2 separate regions of the Homo sapiens genome follow, and region 1 is linked to region 2. Evidence: promoter capture Hi-C in 16 types of primary human blood cells and fetal thymus (Javierre and others, 2016). All regions are on one chromosome and are shown on one strand. The core of a region is centred on a gene start or on the middle of the fragment in contact, and the rest is flanking DNA. Distances in the headings are between cores, read along the strand shown.

The links. The method cuts DNA at HindIII sites, captures the fragments that hold promoters and counts their contacts. A CHiCAGO score of 5 or more calls a contact.
Region 1: a contact is called between a fragment that was not itself captured here and the fragment with the promoter of EFCAB9 in region 2, in 1 of 17 cell types (activated CD4 T cells). The highest score is 5.0, in activated CD4 T cells.

Annotation. Positions count from the first base shown.
Region 1 is chr5:172,266,165-172,271,272 of GRCh38, reverse strand. The region is part of intron 1 of UBTD2 (ubiquitin domain containing 2); the gene reads left to right. Among named protein-coding and RNA genes, the nearest start is that of UBTD2, 15 kb to the left of the region's middle. The HindIII fragment of the contact is 665 bases long and covers 3,303-3,967 here.
Region 2 is chr5:172,191,147-172,196,753 of GRCh38, reverse strand. EFCAB9 (EF-hand calcium binding domain 9) reads right to left here and starts at 2,582. Exons shown (of 4, transcript NM_001171183.2): 1 at 2,446-2,582. The coding sequence starts at 2,581. The HindIII fragment of the contact is 7,932 bases long and covers 1-5,400 here.

The DNA.
Region 1 (5,108 bases), core at 2,386-4,885, 73 kb before region 2:
ATTTTTAGTAGAGACGGGGTTTCACTGTGTTAGCCAGGATGGTCTTGATCTCCTGACCTCGTGATCCACCAGCCTCGGCCTCCAAAAATGCTGGGATTATAGGTGTGAGCCACTGCGCCCAGCCCAAGAAGTTGGTCTTAAAAGAGGATTAGATGAAGAAAAGGCAGAGAAGGGCATCATTCTGTATGTAGAGGAAATTACTTGTACAGAGATACGAAAAAACATAGCATTTAGGGGGATTGCTAAGAAGCTTGTAGAGGAGATAGGTGAAATGTGAAGTTATTAAGATATGTTATTAGATTTGGGAAGACAGGATTGCCATAAGTAGACCAAGTTGTGAGACTATATTATAGGTGATATTAGTGAAGTGGTTTAAAATTTTTGTTTTTTGTGCTTCTAACAGACTAATTCCCATGTAATGCTGCATTTTGCAAGGTTATTTTATATAAAATTCTAATGTAGTAGGTTATTATAGTCTAACAGAGTTTTATTCTGTTACAATTTTAATGCTACAGGTTGGACATCCCTAATCCAAAATTAGAGGATTTCAGGTTTTCAGATTAGGGATACTCAGTATGTGTGCTGCAAGTATTCAAATCTGAAAAACTCTAAAATTCTAGGCTGGGTGCTGTGGCTCACACCTGTAATCCCAGCACTTTGGGAGGCTGAGGTAGGCAGATCACGAGGTCAGGAGATTGAGACCATCCCAGCCAACATTGAAACCCCGTCTTTTACTAAAATACAAAAAAATTAGCCTGGCGTGGTGGTGGGCGCCTGTAGTCCCAGCTACTCGGGAGGCTGAGGCGGGGGAATTGCTTGAACCCGGGAGGCAGAGGTTGAAGAGCCGAGATCGCACCATTGCACTCCGGCCTGGGCAACAAGAGCGAAACTCCACCTCAAAAAAAAAAAAAAAAAAAAAAAATTCTAAAATTCTAAATACTTCTAGTTTCAGAACTTTTGAATAAGAGCTACTCAGTCTGTATTATCACAGATTAAGCATAAGAAATGTATTTAAATTAAAAATTAGGCAGGCCAGGTGGTAGCTGTGCCTGTAGTCCCAGCTACTGGTGAGACTGAGATGGGAGGATCTGTTTGAGCCCATGAGTTCAAGGCTGCAGTGAGCCGTGATTGTGCCACTGCACTCCAGCCTTGGTGACAGAGCAAGACTCTGACTCTTGTTTTTTTGTTTTTAAATTGAGACAGAGTCTTGCTCTGTCGCCCAGGCTGGAGTGCAATGGCGTGATCTCGGCTCACTGCAACCTCTGCCTCCTGGGTTCAAGCAATTCTCCTGCCTCAGCCTCCCGAGTAGCTGGGATTACAGGCATGCGCAACCATGCCCAGCTAATTTTTTGTATTTTTAGTAGAGACGGAGTTTCACCATGTTGGCCAGGCCGGTCTCGAACTCCTGACCTCATGAACTGCCTGCCTCGGCCTCCCAAAGTGCTGGGATTACAGGCATGAGCCACCGTGCCTGGCCTACCCTGACTCTTAAAGAAAAAAAAAATGTGTTTAACTTTTTTTTTTTTTTTTTTTACATGCACATGTATATGTTTGTTACAGAATCAGTCTGTGTCTCTTAGTTCCCAATTTTCTGGCATATGGAAAGAGTTTGGTCTAAGATTCTTCAGACCGCTTGGGTTTTAATCTTGTTACGAGAAGAGGCCTCCATTAGCTGTGTGCGACTCAATTTCTTTCATTGTTGAAAGGAGTGGATGGATAGACCATCTTTACCAAGGTTACATCTAATTCTTTTTTTCAAACTTAATTTTTTTTTTTTTTTTTGAGACAGGGCCTCACTCTGTTGCCCAGACCGGAGTGCAGTGGTGCAGTCTCGGCTCACTGCAACCTCCGCCTCCCAGGCTCAAGTGATTCTCCTGCCTCGGCCTCCCAAGGAGCTAGTATTACAGGCGCACACCACTACTGCCTGGCTAATTTTTGTGTTTTTAGTAGAGATGGGGTTTCACCGTGTCAGCCAGACTGGTCTCCAACTCCTAACCTTAAATGATCCACCTGCCTTGGCCTCCCGAAGTGCTAGGATTACAGGCATGAGCCACCCCGCCCCGCCCAAACTTTTTAAATGACAATTTTCAAACATACTGAAAAGTTGGAAGACTCTAGTACAGAAACCCTTGAACGCCTGTCACCTATATTAAACAAATGATATTTTGTCATATTTATATATCTTTTTTGATATATATTCCTTTGTATCTCTTTTTTTTGCACTTAACTGTTTGAAAGTGAATATAGACATCATGACACTTCAATGTGAATCTCTTAAAAGTAAAGCTGTTCTCCTACGTAACCACAGTACCATTATCACTGCTAAGAAAGATTATTATATCTTCATGTCCTCTGAGATCTAGTCCATAGTCCAAATCCCTTAATTGTCCTCAAAATGTCTTTTATAACTGGGTTTTTTTCCCCAAAATCAGATCTTATCAGCATTTAGACATTGCATTTGTCACTTCAATCTTTTAAAATCCAGAACTCCTCCTCCTCTTCTTCCCTATGACATTCTTTTTTTAAGATGGAGTCTCACTTTGTTGCCCAGGCTGGAGTGCAGTGGCATGATCTCTGCTCACTGCAACCGTTGCCTCCTGGGTTCAAGCAATTCTTCTGCCTCAGCCTCCTGAGTAGTTGGGGAATACAGGTGTGCGCCACCATGCCTGGCTAATTTGTCTATTTTTTGGTGGAGACGGGGTTTTACCATGTTGGCCAGGCTGGTCTTGAACTCCTGACCTCAAGTGATCTGCCACGCCCGGCCGACATTGACTTTTTGAAGAGTCTTGTAGAATGTACCACAATCTGGATTTGTCTGAATGTGGCCTTGTATCATTTAATGTGTGCTGTAGCCTCTGTTTTCCCTGGAAATCAGGTAGATTTAATTCTACAGAGGACGGTTGAACTATTTTCCAGGCTACAGTAGATCCACACTCTGCCCACTTCTCTTTTTCTACGTTCCAACTAGGATAATCTTTCATTATTGACCAACTCTGAGCGTTTTTCTCATTTTTCTACCCAGAAATAATCCTGCCGTTTTCTGAACTTCCTTAGTACTATTCTTATAGTACTTATCCTCTCCACTCTACTTAAAAAAAAAAACTTCTATCATGGCTATTTTTATACATTACTTATCTTCGCACAATGTAAGCTGCATTGGACCTGGGGCAGAGACTGGTTCTCTCATAATGCTTTAGGATCAATTATCATTTGTGTGGAACACATCTTTGACTTTATAATGGCATTGGAGAGAAAATAATATGCTCTTAATAGAAGCCTTTCTTAGTTCTAGAACAGAAGCTTTGTTAAATAGGACCATATAGTATAATGAAAAGATCTGGGAGTCAGAAGAACCCTTGAGTGTTCCACTCATCTTCCGTTTCTTTATGACCTTAAATAAGTCAGTTGACTTCCCAGCTTTCGTTTTTAAGTATGTTAGATGAAATCAGTAGATTCAGACATTAACATGGAATCTTCTTTTTTTTTAAATCTGACATTGAACACTAACATAGCCTCAGCATTTGATTTCTTTATATTTTATTTTGATGGTGTGGAATCAGTAAAGTCCTGGTACACAAATTTTTAAACATGATTTAGAGTCTCATAAAGTTCTGTAGGAGATTTTAAGTTTGAATCACCAACATCATCAGCTGTACTCAGAAGTTAAACACGTCATGTCAAGCAGTGTTATGACTTAAGTTATATTTTCTCCGAGTATTGTTTATTTACTTCGTGTTGATGAGAGCGTATACTGAGCAGATGCATCTGAGCTTGCTGTGACATTTAGTGGAACCTAGACATCCATGTACTGTGTTAATGTGCTCACTTGTACAGTTTTACGGGACTGGATGTATACATGCCTGTATTAACAAAAGACACCATGCAGACCTGTGGTTTTCCCAGTCAGTAACACATTTGCAGGAAGTTTCCTAAATTTCATATATGCGTAAAGATGGCAAGAAAAGCTTCATTCCAATGCCTTTACAATCATTTTGACCTGGTGGCGTAAGCTAACATGTCTCATGATGGTCTTCATATTAGAAACTTAACATTTGTGGAACTTTTTATTATAGTTCTTAAAAATAGCAAAAATAGGTTTTACAGAGTAATCTCAGTTGTGTTTATGGATCTCTGAAGCAGGTGTTTCTTTTGTTCTCTTGGGTTCTTTGGAACCAGTTTTTAAAATCATACGGTAAGATTCTAGGAAAAAACTTTTTTTTTTTTTTTTTTTTTAAAGAGAGGCTCTCTGTTACCTAGTGGAGTGCAGTGGTGTGATCAGAGTTCACTGCAGTCTCAAACTCCTGGGCGGTCAAGCAATCCCCTGCCTCAGGCAGCCTCTGGGGTAGCTAGGATTATAGGCGCACACCACTGCACCTGGCTGATCTCTAAATTTTTTTTGTATAGATGGTGTCTTGTTTTGTTGCCCAGGCTGATCTTGAAATCCTGGCTTCAAGTGATCTGCCCTGCCTGGGCCTCCCAAAGTGTTGGGATCACAGGCATGAGCTACTGCAGCCGGCCAACTTTTGGCTGCTTAATGTACTGTAAGTGAAGTTGTTTGTTTATGATGTGAACCTTACCTCTTAGCCCATTTGAAGCTGGAAATGCAACTTAGCACTATTAGGCCTACTCTCCCTATCTCTCACCTGACATTACTTTTCTCATTCCTCTCTTGGGCATAAAATATTACATCTCTTCACCTCCAATTGGAACAGACTTATGTTTAACCGTAGGAAATTCAGACAGGAAGTACTTCATGGAAAAGGGGCCGGTGGATGAGATGTGTTTGACAGTTTGGCTGTGGCTTGTGAAGTAGGAACCAGAATAGATGGCATGCCAAGAAGGACCTGGTAGGTAAAGTCTGGTGCCTGCTCTGCTGTGTTTTTAAAAATCTGACTGTTGCTTATGAAGAATGGATTAGATTCAGATGAAACCAGTGGGATACCGATGCAGTCTTTACATCCAGTGACTCACACACAGCTTCTTCCCATCTTAGGGCTTTCGTGCTGTTTCCTTTGCTTGGAATCTAAACAATGTGTGGTGCTGGCCAGGTGCGGTGGCTCACACCTGTAATCCCAGCACTTTCGGAGGCCGAGGCGAGTGGATCAGCT
Region 2 (5,607 bases), core at 1,333-3,832:
TTTTTACGTTTATCTACATGTGTTTCCCCTTACTCACTGATGACAGAAACTCTCTCCTGCATAAGAAATGGCTCCAGTGGGCAGGTGCGGTGGGTCACACCTGTAATCCCAACACTTTGGGAGGCCGAGGCAGGAGGATGACCTGAGGTCACGAGTTCAAGACCAGCCTGACCAACATGGAGAAACCTCGTCTCTACTAAAAATACAAAATTAGCCGGACGTAGTGGTGCATGCCTGTAATCCCAGCTACTAGGGAGGAGAATCGCTTGAACCCAGGAGGCGGAGGTTACAGTGAGCCAAGATGGCGCCACTGCACTCCAGCCTGAGCAACAAGAGTGAAACTCCGTCTCAAAAAAAAAAAAAAGAAATGTCTCCACTGAATAGGTAAAACGTATCTGTGTAATGTGGAGTCCCAGCTGAAGCCAGCTAAAAGCACAGCAAATTAGTAGTCACAATGTCATGATTTGGGGGCTTCTGACCGCCTCTTGATGTTCCTTCTCCACGCCTCTCTGGATATGAGCACCTGGAAACAACACACCATATATATGCACAGTGATGTTTGTGTAGTTGCTGCTTGAGAAATGTTTCCATGTGCAACTTAGTAATTACTTAACAAAGACTGTTTTGAGGCCGGGTGTGATAGCTCACGCCTGTAATCCCAGCACTTTGGGAGGCTGAGGTGGGCGGATCACTTGAGGTCAGGAGTTCGAGACTAGCCTGGCCAACAGAGACTAGCCTGGCCAACATAGTGAAACCCCGCCCGTCTTTACTAAGAATACAGAAATTAGCGGGTGTGGTGGTGCACAGCTGTAGTCCCAGCTACTCAGGAGGCTGAGGCAGGAGAATCACTTGAACCCGGGAGGTGGAGGTTGCAATGAGCCAAGATTGGGCCACTGCACTTCTGGGCGACAGAGCGAGACTCCGTCCCAATAAATAAATAAATAAATAAATAAAAGACTGTTTTGAAACCGGTGGACTCTGGCTCACCCAAGTCTCCAAAACCTTAAGTCATTCCCCCACAGGAAGGCAAACATTAAGGCTGTGCCTTCACCCTTCCAGGTCACTCTCCAGTCCCTCTGTGACCAGAAGACATGAGCATGGCGTTACCTCCTGGGTACTGCATCAGCAGGGAGGTTACCAGGGAGCTTAAACTCCTCAAGCATCCCAGAGAGACTCAGCATGGGCTTTGCAGGCAGAGAGCCCTGCGTTTCCATCTCAGCCTTTTATTTACAACTAGGTCCCCTGCAGCTGCCTTATCTAGGGCAGGGTTATTGCGAAGATTTGGCAATGCACTGTACATAAATCTCTATGTAAAGAGAGAAAGAAGGTGTTCTTTTTTAATTGTTTTTAAAAATTGAATGAACTCCTTAAAATCATGACGGAGGAACCCCTTACTCACGGATGACATTTCTCTCTCTGAGGTCAGAACGAGTGAATGGATAGGATACCTTATTTCTACTCAGTCCTAAAAATAACCTCAAGTGTTTAATTGGACTTCTATTAGTTTGTGAACTCAACAAGCATGGCTGAGATCTGCAGCTTTTATATTTATTTATTTATTTATTTATTTTTATTTATTTATTTATTTATTTATTTATTTTTGGTCATTCACAAGTACCAATAAGTAGAAGGGATCCTGCAGCTCATCAGATTCAAACTTCCCACATGACAGATAAATCTTGCTGAGGGGTCTCCAGAGTTAATGCCTGAGTGGGGCTCAGCTCCCAAGAATAATAATTACAATAATAACAAACACTTATTAAGTCCTTACGATGTGTCAGACACTGTGCTAAGCATTTGCCATACTCTCATTATCTTTTTTTTTTCCAACTATGAGATGGACTCCATTATGAGAAGCCTCACCTCTAGATGAGGAAAATGAGACTTAGAGAGGGCGATGACGTGTTATCCACATCACCAAGGAATAATGGGTGTGGAGCCAGGATTCCACCAGAGTCTGCAATTTTCTCCTCCCGGCTGAACTGTCCCCCGTGTCAATTCTGAGTTGGCAACTTCTCTCTGTGCTTCAACTAGAAGATAAAATATTTACTAACAGGCCGGGTGTGGTAGCTCACACTTGTAATCCCAGTACTTAGGGAGGCGGAGGCGGGTGGATCACCTGATGTCAGGAGTTTGAGACCAGCCTGGCCAACATGGTCTGGTCATCTCTACCGAAAATACAAAAAATTAGCCAGGCGTGGTGGCAGACACCTGTAATCCCAGCTACTCAGGAGGCTGAGGCAGGAGAATTGCTTGAACCCTGGAGGCGGAGATTGCAGTGAGCTGAGATCGCGCCATCGTACTCCAGCCTGGGCAATAGAGCGAGATTCCGTCTCAAAAAAAAAAAAATGTACTAACAAAATAGTTTCTGGCTCTGCAAGTTTTCTTACACATTAGCTAAAACCCAGGTAAGGACCCAGAGGAGACATGTCTGAAAGTACTGACCATTCAAGGTGTTCTTGCCGTGCACGTCCAGAATATGAAAATATTCTGCCAAAGCCTTCACGTTTCTCACGGATAATAAGCAGTATATTTTGTCCAGATAGAGGTACCACAGAAACGATCCTTGCTTCAGTCTCATCTTAGTACTGTGTCAACTGAAGGCTCTGGCAACCAGAAATAGAATACAGAACCCTGCCTCAGAAGTAGAATGTTGGATATAGTGTCTGAGATCTGGCAGCAGTGAAGGTAAACACGTCAGAGGAAACAGTCAAAAATTAAAATTGCTGCTTCTTAATTTTTCCAGCTATGCTATAGATAGATATCTGCTGTCCGAAACCTCTTGGTAACGTGATTATCCTTATGTCACTAAAATACAATCAGTTCTAAAGGAGATCCACAGGCTGTTCAGAAATGAATGAGAGAATGTGCTACATAGGAAAACTGCTACACAGCCCAAGTGGTTTTCAGAGCATTTATAGCCTAAATCATTTATTAGAAAGAAGAAAAATTGAAAAACACATGGAAAAGTACTAAAAGAGCCTAGAATAACTACAGTATAATAATGCCAAAGAGAGGAAGTTTTTCTTTTTTCTTTTCTTTTTTTTAATTGAGACAAGAGTCTTGCCTTGTCACCCAGGCTGGAGTGCAGTGGCGCGAGCTCTGCTCACTGCAAGCTCCGCCTCCCGGGTTCACGCCATTCTCCTGCCTCAGCCTCCTGAGTATCTGGGACTACAGGCGACAGGCGCCCACCAACACGCCCGGCTAATTTTGTGTATTTTTAGTAAAGACGGGGTTTCACCACGTTAGCCAGGATGGTCTTCATCTCCTGACCTTGTGATCCGCCCGTCTTGGCCTCCCAAAGTGCTGGGATTACAGGTCTGAACCATTGAGCCCTGCCTCTTTTTTTTCTTTTTTTGAGACAGAGTTTCACTCTTATCATCCAGGCTGGACTATAATGGCACAGTCTTGACTCACGGCAACCTCTGTCTTCTGGATTCAAGCGAATCTCCTGCCTCAGCCTCCCGAGTATCTGGAATTACAGGCATGCACCCCCACGCCCAGCTAAATTTTTGTTTTTATTTTTTATTTTTTATTTTATTTTATTTTTATTATTATTATTTTTTGAGATGGAGTCTCGCTCTGTCTCCCAGGCTGGAGTGCAGTGGCGCGATCTCGGCTCACTGCAAGCTCCACCTCCCAGGTTCACACCATTCTCCTGCCTCAGCCTCCCCAGCAGCTGGGACTACAGGCACACTCCGCCACTCCCGGCTAATTTTTGTATTTTTAGTAGACACGGGTTTCACCGTGTTAGCCAAGATGGTCTTCATCTCCTGACCTTGTGATCCGCCTGCCTCGGCCTCCCAAAGTGCTGAGATTACAGGCGTGAGCCACTGCACCCAGCCCAATTTTTGTATTTTTAGTAGAGATGAGGTTTAACCATGTTGGCCAGGGTGGTCTTGATGCCTGCCCTCAAGTGATCCACCCGCCTTGGCCTCACAAAGTGCTGGGAGTACGGGTATGAGCCACTGTGCCCTGACATTAATTTTTTTTTTCTTTTTTCTTTTTTTTTTTTTTGAGACAGGATCTCACTCTGTCTCCTAGGCTGGAGTGCAGTGGTATGGTCATACCTCACTGCAGCCTTGAATCCCAGGCTCAAGCTATCCTCCCACCTCCACCTCCTCATAGCTGGGACTATGCCCATGTGCTACCACGTTGTATTTTTTGTAGAGATAGGATCTTGCTACATTGCCAAGGCTGGTCTTGAACTCCTGGCCTCAAGCTATCCTCCCACCACAGCCTTCCAAAGTGTTGGGATTACAGGTGTGAGCCATGGTGCCCAGCCCCTCCTCTGTCTTAATTTTCTACTCCCTACTCACTCCCAAATAAACCACTTACACTCAAATCCTTGCCTCAGGGTCAGTCTCTAAGGGAATCCAACCTAAGAATACTATAAAATGCTTTTTCTGTGACTATTAAGACTATGTGATTTTTCTCCTTTACTCTGCCAATGCAGTGCTATTACAGTAGATTTTCTGATGTAGAACCATTCTTTTATTCCTGGATAAACCTTTTGTGGTTACGATATTTTTATTCACCTCTGGTTTGATCTTGCTAGCATTTGTATTTTCCCTGTCTTTTTAAGAACTGAAATTAGGCCGGGCGTGATGGCTCACACATGTAATCCCAGTACTTTGGGAGGCTGAGGCGGGCGGATCACGAGGTCAAGAGATTGAGACCATCCTGGCCAACATGGTGAAACCTCATCTCCACTAAAAATACAAAAATTAGCCGGGCGTGGTGGCACGTTCCTGTAGTCCCAGCTACTTGGGAGGCTGAAGCGGGAGAATCGCTTGAATCTGGGAGGTGGAGGTTGCAGTGAGGTGAGATCACACCATTGCACTCCAGCCTGGCGACACAGCAAGACTCTCTCTGTCAAAAAAAAAAAAAAAAAAAAATGAAATGAAATTAGTCTACAATTTTCTTTCTCTCTCTCTCTTTCCTCTCCTTCCCTTCCTTTTTAAGACAGGGTCTCACTGGAGACCAGGCTGGTGCAGCGGTGAGATCACTGTTCACTGCAGCCTCGGCCTCCTGGGCTCAAGGAATCCTCCTGCCTCAACCTCCTGAGTAGCTGGGACCACTGGTGTGCACCACCACGCCTGGCTAATTTTTTGACTTTTTGTAGAAACAGGGTCTCACTTTATAGCTCTGGCTGGTATGGAACTCCTGGGCTCAAGTGATCCTCCCACCTCAGCCTCCCAAAGTGCTGGAATTACAGGTGTAAGCCACTGTGCCTGGCTTACAATTTTCTTTTACTGTCCTTATCTAGTAATAGTAAAACTCATCTTATAAAATAAATTGGCAGATTTCCTTCATTTTCTATCTTTTAAAATAATTTATATAAAGAAAGAAATTATTTGTAAAACCACACAGACTGATGTCTTTCACCAAGAACAAGCTTTTGATTCTTGATTTTTGTGGTTGTTGTTTTTTGGGTTTTTGTTTGTTTGTTTTTGTTTAGAGACAGAGTCTCACTGTGTTGCCCAGGCTCGAGTGCAGTGGTGTGATCTCGGCTCACTGCAACCTCCGTCTCCTAGGTTGAAGGGATTCTTGTGCCTGAGTCTCATGAGTAGTTGGGACCACAGGCACGCACCACCACACCCGACT